Regions from separate parts of the Homo sapiens genome. Here region 2 is linked to region 1. The links are contacts of gene promoters, found by promoter capture Hi-C in blood cells and fetal thymus (Javierre and others, 2016). All regions are on one chromosome and are shown on one strand. The core of a region is centred on a gene start or on the middle of the fragment in contact, and the rest is flanking DNA. Distances in the headings are between cores, read along the strand shown.

Evidence for each region. Contacts are between HindIII fragments. The CHiCAGO score rates a contact against its expected background, and 5 or more counts as called.
Region 2: a contact is called between a fragment that was not itself captured here and the fragment with the promoter of FAM3C in region 1, in 1 of 17 cell types (non-activated CD4 T cells). The highest score is 6.8, in non-activated CD4 T cells.

The regions. Positions count from the first base shown.
Region 1 is chr7:121,394,704-121,398,428 of GRCh38, reverse strand. FAM3C (FAM3 metabolism regulating signaling molecule C) reads left to right here and starts at 2,121. Exons shown (of 10, transcript NM_014888.3): 1 at 2,121-2,267. It also overlaps the pseudogene CYCSP19. RefSeq lists silencers at 1,757-1,816, 1,857-2,686 and enhancers at 1,914-2,498, 2,499-3,084. The HindIII fragment of the contact is 3,372 bases long and covers 381-3,725 here.
Region 2 is chr7:114,921,707-114,925,431 of GRCh38, reverse strand. It overlaps MDFIC (MyoD family inhibitor domain containing), which reads right to left and starts at 3,338. Exons shown (of 5, transcript NM_001166345.3): 1 at 2,796-3,338; 2 at 2,305-2,505. The coding sequence starts at 2,398. RefSeq lists silencers at 2,319-2,458, 2,689-2,868, 2,879-2,928, 3,259-3,398. The HindIII fragment of the contact is 601 bases long and covers 1,680-2,280 here.

The DNA of each region.
Region 1 (3,725 bases), core at 872-3,371:
TGCTATGAAGGATGACACTCAGAAGCTGGATGTCACACTCTCTGTATATTCTTTTCGAGTCAACAAAAAAGTTGGGCTTTGAAGTTGAGCACGTGAGTTTGAATCTTAGCTCTGTCTGGTCATAGCAGAAGGACCTTGAGCAAGTTTCACTTTTCTCCGCTGTATTTATAGGATTATTGTGAGAATTAAATAAGTCTATATATATAAAGTGCTTAGAAAAGTGCCTGGTGCACAATAAGCACACAATAAATATCAGCTTTAGAAATATACATTATCAGTAGCTATTATTATATAATATAAATTATCGGTAGTTATTGTAATAGCCAACACCTTTGGCTTATACCTCCTGGAGCTGTAAAGCTCTGTGGTTTTATTAAGCTTAATCATTAATCCTGAATACTTCTCCTGGCTCCCCTACCTCCTGCCAAGTAAAAGTAGGAAGTTATCCTTACTCGTTTATAGGTGTAAGAACTGGCTGATTAACAGGAGTCCTAAAGAAGTGATTTACCAATGTTAAAAAAATTGAAACCCATATTAAGAAATATAATTTCTACTGTATCCAGGACATAGACACACAGACACTCACCCACACATGATGCTGTACAAATGTTTCATGAAGAATACTTATCCTGAATTTATGCTTTGAACTGTTTTTTTTTTCTATTTTTCAGTGAATCAACAGCAACAAAATGTTGGTTGTGACCCATTGTTATTAATTTCATTACCTACCAAAGGGTTCTAAGCTATATCTTATGGTCAGTGGAGAATAGGCTACTAACACATTAAACTTTATGCACAGGAATTGTTTCAGGTGTGGTGCTATAAGAATATGTCACATGTAATTTCCAATCTGGTTGGCTCGGTTACAGAGCAGATTGCTCTTTCAGAAATACACCGTGACCTCCCTACTCAAGAGGCTTCATAAACTCTTTCAGTGAGACATAGCAGTCTAGGAGAGGCATGTGTACAGTAAGTGTTATGATTTTTTGGTACTATAATAAGCAAAGTGCCTTTTTGTTTATTTGGAGCTACATGAAGCTAGGCCGGAATTCCAGCTTCATAACTTACTATCTTGTATTTTTGAGCAAGATATTTAAACTCAGTTTTGGAGTCTTAGTTTTTTGATTTAAGTAATACACAAATAGCATAATATTGGCACATGGAAGACAATGAGAATTCATTTCATGCTTTCTCCCCTGATCACGGATCACAAACTCCAGAATTCATAGTTACTATTAGTTTGTGTGTTTTATATTTTTGGAGGAAAGCTAAAATTTGGTAGATTATTAATTCTATATTAACACACTATAGTCAAACCCTATTTTTAAATGCAATTTAATTTCTGCAACCACTGATGATCCCAATATTCTGTCAAATACTAGGTAACAGTTATTCATTATTTTAGAATATGGATCTGAATTATGAAATAATTTTGCATTCTAAGGTCTTATGTAGTAAGATTTGGATTAACTTCCCAATTATCAACACAATTGTAGGAAATCTCCTGAGAAAAAATATTTCTAACGATTGTGTATCTTATAATTTAAAAAATAAACGTGACTTGGAAAATGCAAGGACTACTGTTCTTCTTGGGTGGTGCATTAAAGGTGATCAGAATTCTAATGACGCTGGACAGTAGGATTTTCAGAATCAGTTTCCTAGGGTTCAAGAAGTCAAACGGCAAATAACCCAAGGTCCTTGGTTGATCTGACCATCTCAGCTATCTCAAGATATATAAGATGACCTAACTGGCGCATCTCTAGGATGGGTGGGTCATTTAAAATGTTCTGCCCTTGAGGCTGGGATTTTGTGCGTGTAAACGGTGGGGAGACGGCGGTGACACATTTTTCTCCCTCCCGTAGTGCCACCCGGCGCAGGGCCGCTGCGGCGGCGGCAGCTCCCACGTGGCAAGTTCAGATTGTGCAGCGCCTGGCCGGGGGCGGTGGGCGGGACCGCAGACCCCTCCCTCCGCTCTCCGGCCCTTCCCTCTGGCCGGCCCGGGCGCCCGCTTGGTCCTCCACCGCCAGGGGGCGGGCGCGGCTTCCCGGCGGCGGGGGCCCATTGGTCGCGGCCGGGAAGCGTGGGAGGAGGCCCAGCGGCGAGCTGGCTTTCTCCTGGCCACTTGCCGGGGTGAGGGGCAGCCGGAGGAGTCCGAGAGGAAGCGGAGGCGCGAGCTGGAGGCGGCGGCTCCCGTCGGCCTCCGGCAGGACTGAGCGCTGGGAGGCCGGAAGGCGGGCGCGCGCGGCGGAGAGGCGGGCGGGAGGCCGGTGAGACGGCTGGGAGGCGGACGGAGCCGGGGCTCAGGTTCGGGGAGGGATGGAGGAGGCCGGGGAAGCCAGACGCCCACCTACGACTTCAGCCTCCGCGCACTGCGGTCACCGGCCGGGGGCGGGCCCCGGGCCCGGCCGCGTTGTCACGGCGTGTCCGGACGTTGGAGAGGGCGCAGGCGGGACTGGGGTCCCGGAGAGCCGCTGGCCGGGGTTCCCGGCCGCCGCCCCGGCGTGGGCATCCCCGGGCTCCGCGGAGACGGGGCGGCGTCTGCACCTGGCGCTGGCACTCGGCGCCCCGGCCTGGGGCGGGCACCTGGGTCGCATCTTCCCCAGGTTGGCTGTGGCTCGCGCCCCTGCAGCGTGTAGGCTGAGAGCTCCGAGAGGTGGGGACGGAGTTGGGTGTTGCATTCCAACTCCATAGGGGGCCGTTTTGACTCACTTGTAAAGTTTTAGTGTCGCCTATACTAGAGGTACTTTTGGTTTTTTACAAGCTATCCAGCCCTTTGATGTTTGGTGTCTCTTCTTTTTCTTCCTATTTGTTTGCTACTGCTCTCACAGCTCGGGACCACGGATGATGATTAGTGGCCCTAGATCTGAATATGTGAGTGACGGATTGGCAATTTGAGATTGAGAGCTCCAGCTGTTTTACTTGTGGGAGGAGCGGTTTCCATCATCCTCTACCTTTTTTTTTTTTAAGAAAAAATATTATTGCCTGTAATATAGAACTGCTATCTAATTGATAGGACTTTTCCTTTGTTTCTTTTTGGCCAACATGGTGAAACCTCGTCTCTACTAAAAAATAAAAAAATTAGCCAGGTGTATGTATCCATATATATATATGTATGTATGTATCCATATATATGTATGTATCCATATATATGTATGTATCCATATATATGTATGTATCCATATATATGTATGTATGTATCCATATATATGTATGTATCCGTATATATGTATGTATCCATGTATCCATATATATGTATGTATCCATATATATATGGATACAATGACATAAATAATATTAGATTGCTTACTGTGTACTAGGCACTGCCAAATGGTTTCGTGTGCTCATTTATTCTCACAACAGCTCAGTGAATAAGTCCCTTTATCTTTTCTAGTTTTACAGATGGAAATATGAACTCCCGAGAGTAAAGGTCAATGCTGATAGCAGAGGCCCCGACCCCTTGGACTTGTGGCCAATTTGCAGTTACGTTTTCTTAAGTCTTGGGAACCGTTACTATTAGTCATACAGTATCTTACAGAGTACCAGCAGATCTCTATTGAATTTAGAAAATAAAAGTTAATCACTTACTGAAAGCCATTTAACAAGAAATTGGCAGAATCAGCAAATCAGCATCCGGTTTTGGTCACTTCATCGACCTGTACCTCTTTCTAGAGGCTACTAGTAGTCTCTTGTGTTTCTTGGCTGTTTACCAATAAAGTCACAAGGTT
Region 2 (3,725 bases), core at 731-3,230, 6.5 Mb after region 1:
CTTTCTAATTCTTAATGCTAATACTAGAATGGGCTTCACTACAGGTTTTTAACAAAACACCTAAAAGGATGTAGAATTGAATTTTAGACTTGATGTGGAGTTCAGATTAGAGAATCCCCAAAATTACTTTCAACTGTAATGTTTCATGCCTTTGGTTAACAGTATGGATAGCTCATCACAATATAGTATAGTAATAAATGTAGAGCTTGTAATGTCATTATTTACCTATATATATATATTTAACTTTGCAGGGGTAGACTTGATCATATCCTTCATGTTCCTGAAATAATATTTTTTTCTGTTAATTTGTATTTAAAATTCCACTTTTCTTACTGACTTTAATATAAAGAATTTAAAAATTAGGTTTCTGTTAACTAAGCAGCCATATCCTACCGTAGAATTATTAAGCTATTCTTCAGAAAGGATGATAAAGAATCCAAGGACAGAAGCAAGAGGATAAAAGAACTTGAGAAAAGGCTTAAGAGTAGAGTGGCCTTCGAGCAAAGCTTCTTCACAAATGTCTTTATCAATAAAACCAACCTAACCAAGCTTCCCTTGAAGCTTTCCTCTAACCATTTGCTCCAAGAATTTCTTTCTTTAAATACACCTTATGACATCTGCCTGTTTAAGACATCATATTTTAACAAGATTCTGCAGACTCTCTTTTTAAAAATCAACTTTATATTTAAATTAAACTGATCCCTATTTAAAGAAAGTTTTGGATCAAAGTTAAACTAATAATAATAAAAATGTATAACTATGTTGCTAAAGCTAAGGCAATTTTCAGGTAAAATATAACCCAAGAGTTTCTACACTGATAACGTGTGTTGTACCCAACAAATGTACTTCAGGCCACTCTAGATTTTCGGGTTCTTAAGTTCAGATCACATGACACCATCCAGCATCCTAATGCACAGGTACATTAAGTACCACTGCACATTCTCCCAGATGATTTTAGAAATGCAAACTATTAAAGTTGGATATTGTAGATATTAGCTATTTCCAGGTCAAATTATTTTCCTTGGGTGTTTGATGTTGATTTTTGACATAAGCCTGGTTTAACAATTGTGATTAGCAGCTCAAGTGTGAGCATAAACAGCCCATCAATGAGTCGATATGACTACTAAGGGCATGCCTAATGACAGGAAAATGATTGTGCTGACAATACAAGGTGGAGAACACGGGCTGCTTCTCAGAAAACATATGTTTATCATTCTAGTTCTCTGATTTTCTGCAGTTAATCATTTTTATTTTCTGTTTAGAAAGCTGAGTCACTCATTTAGAGGCAAAAAATAATGATAAATGTAATTCAGTTTAACAGCCCTGGGTGCCAGAACATTTTAATTTAACCAAGATGTTTTCTGCTTTTACCTATTGCAGCTTGAAAGTTAACTCCTTCTCCAATTTTTGCTGCCTTAAAAAAAATCCCTAAGATTCACTACATTAGTACAAGTGGGAAATAAAGCTATCAGTTTATGCCTAAAATCAGGGGTATATGCTAGGTTTTTGAGCACTGGAAAAATTACTTAGTTCTGATATATCAGTGACAGAATTCTTTAGCTCAAAACCATCCTTAGAGTAAAATGCATTAGAAGTTTAAGAACCTTCCTCTCTGTCACCAATGGAAACCTAAAGTATATTGCCTTCAAGAGAAGAAAGGTTCAACTCGTTTAGAAGCTTGTTATGGAAGTTTCCCAGACACAAGAGTATTTTATAGGCTGTGTGTGTTTACACTTTGGAAGAACACAAAGAAGCTAATTCATTCTTGGAAAGTGTTTCTTATAAACCTTGTTTATTTATTTCAAAACAAACCAGTTATTGAAAACAAGCATAAGCCATTCCAAAGCTACTGGTCACAGAAACCTGAATTATCAACCGGGTGGTAGAGGAGCCAACAAGAAACAGAAAGATGAAATGGAGTAAGTGCACGCTTGTTCAGAGAGCTGCGGCAGTCCTGGATCTGCTGAAGAGACCTAGAGGAGAAGCGCTTCAGAACCTACACATTGAGTCTTAGGCCCAAACATGCATATGCTTAAGAAAGAAGCAATCCTGTCATCCTGTTTCTTCGCAACCAAAGGAAGGGGGAGTGGAGGGACCAACGGTTCCCGCCCTCTTACCCGGTTGTTGATCTAGGGCAAGGATCCTGAAGAACTTGCCTGAGTAACGCGAACTGTGCAAAAGTTCTCAACTACGAGTGGGAGCCCCTCCTCACAGCACTCCCCCCACCCCTATCTGTGCACTTGTGAGCAAACTGAAAAATGCAACAATGACAAAGAAGCTTGCCACTTGCAAGCGCGCACTCACCCTGGGCTGTGGAGCCCAGCTGGCCGCCGCCCGCCTCGGCCACGCGCTGCGGCCCCACGGGCCCGGGAGCGAGGGCTTCGCCCGCGCCGGACATGGGCCGCTCCGCCGAGCCCGCGCCGCGCCGCTGCCGCCTAGCTCGCCGCCCGGCAGGGCGCACGGAGGAAGGGCTGTGAGGTGCTGGGTGCAGGGAACTGACTGCTTCTGGCGGAAAAATATACAAAATTAAAAAAAAAAATGTTTTTAGAGAAGAGCACACCACCCCTGCGGGACGTTCCCTCCCCCTCCACTTCCCTCCCTCAAACTCCACCCCGGGGAAGTTTTGATTTGAAACTTGCGAAGAAAACTGTTACAGCGCAAGTTGACAGCGGCGGGGTCCCAGGGGTCCGAGGTGGACCCAGCGGGGAGGGGCTGGAAAGAGAGATCGGGTTTGGGAGAACCCCGGGGATGGGGATCAAACCCCTCCTCTTCCCCGCCCGGAGACCACTACCTACCTCCGCATCCCCCCGTAGTCGCTCCAAGCCCCTTCCTCCTCCTCCTCCTCCTCTTCCGCCCCGGAAAGTTAGCGAGCCTCCGGCAGCGGCCGCATTTTCGCCCCGGTGGCCTGACGACGGCGGCGGCCGCCCCTGCGCGTCCTCCCGCCTCCCTCCGGCTCAGCCCAGACGCCGCAGTGGCGGCAACTGCGGCAGCGGTGGCGGCTCTGACTCCGCGCACTCCGCCCCCTCTTTCCAGCCAGCTCACTCCAGCCGGCTCCCCTGCGAGGGGGCCTTCCCCCTCTCTGCCTCTCTTTCCCCTCTTCCACTCCTACAATCCTGAAACACTTCTCCCTCTGTTGCTCTTTTTCATCACATCCGGATCGGGAAGGCCTCGAACTCTTGGCTAGCGGCCCCGATGCTGGGAGCGGCGCGACCCGGGCTCGGCCGCGCGATCCCTCGCGCCCTGCGCTGTCTGGGTCAGGAGGCCAGAGCCGGCCTGGGCTGGCTCGGGCTCCCCACCCGGGCGCTGCGCCCTCCCGGGGCTGGGAAAGGGGAGTGAATGGGCAGGTCCCTGGCTGCCCAGACGTTCCCCCCACCCCGCCCAAAAAGTCACCTCATCCCTTCTCCCTACTCCTGCCCCCAGACCGACGGAGGCTTTGGGAATATCCTGACGAAAACCTTTAGGGTGGACAAGGAAAAACGAAAACACTGTTACAGTATCGAACTTTCCTGGTGGGATAGAGAACGTGTGCGTTTGAAACCTTGACCCCTCGGTTGAACGTTTACTCACTTCATCTCTGGCTCCTAAATTACTCTTTGGTCAAACAGTATTCCTGATGTAAAACCAGTTGCAGTTTGCGCGAATCTGCTGGAGGCATCCAGGCAAACAAGGTTGGCACCCTTGCGGATGCCGTGGTACTGGCCCCAGCCTGGCCTATGGCAAGCTAA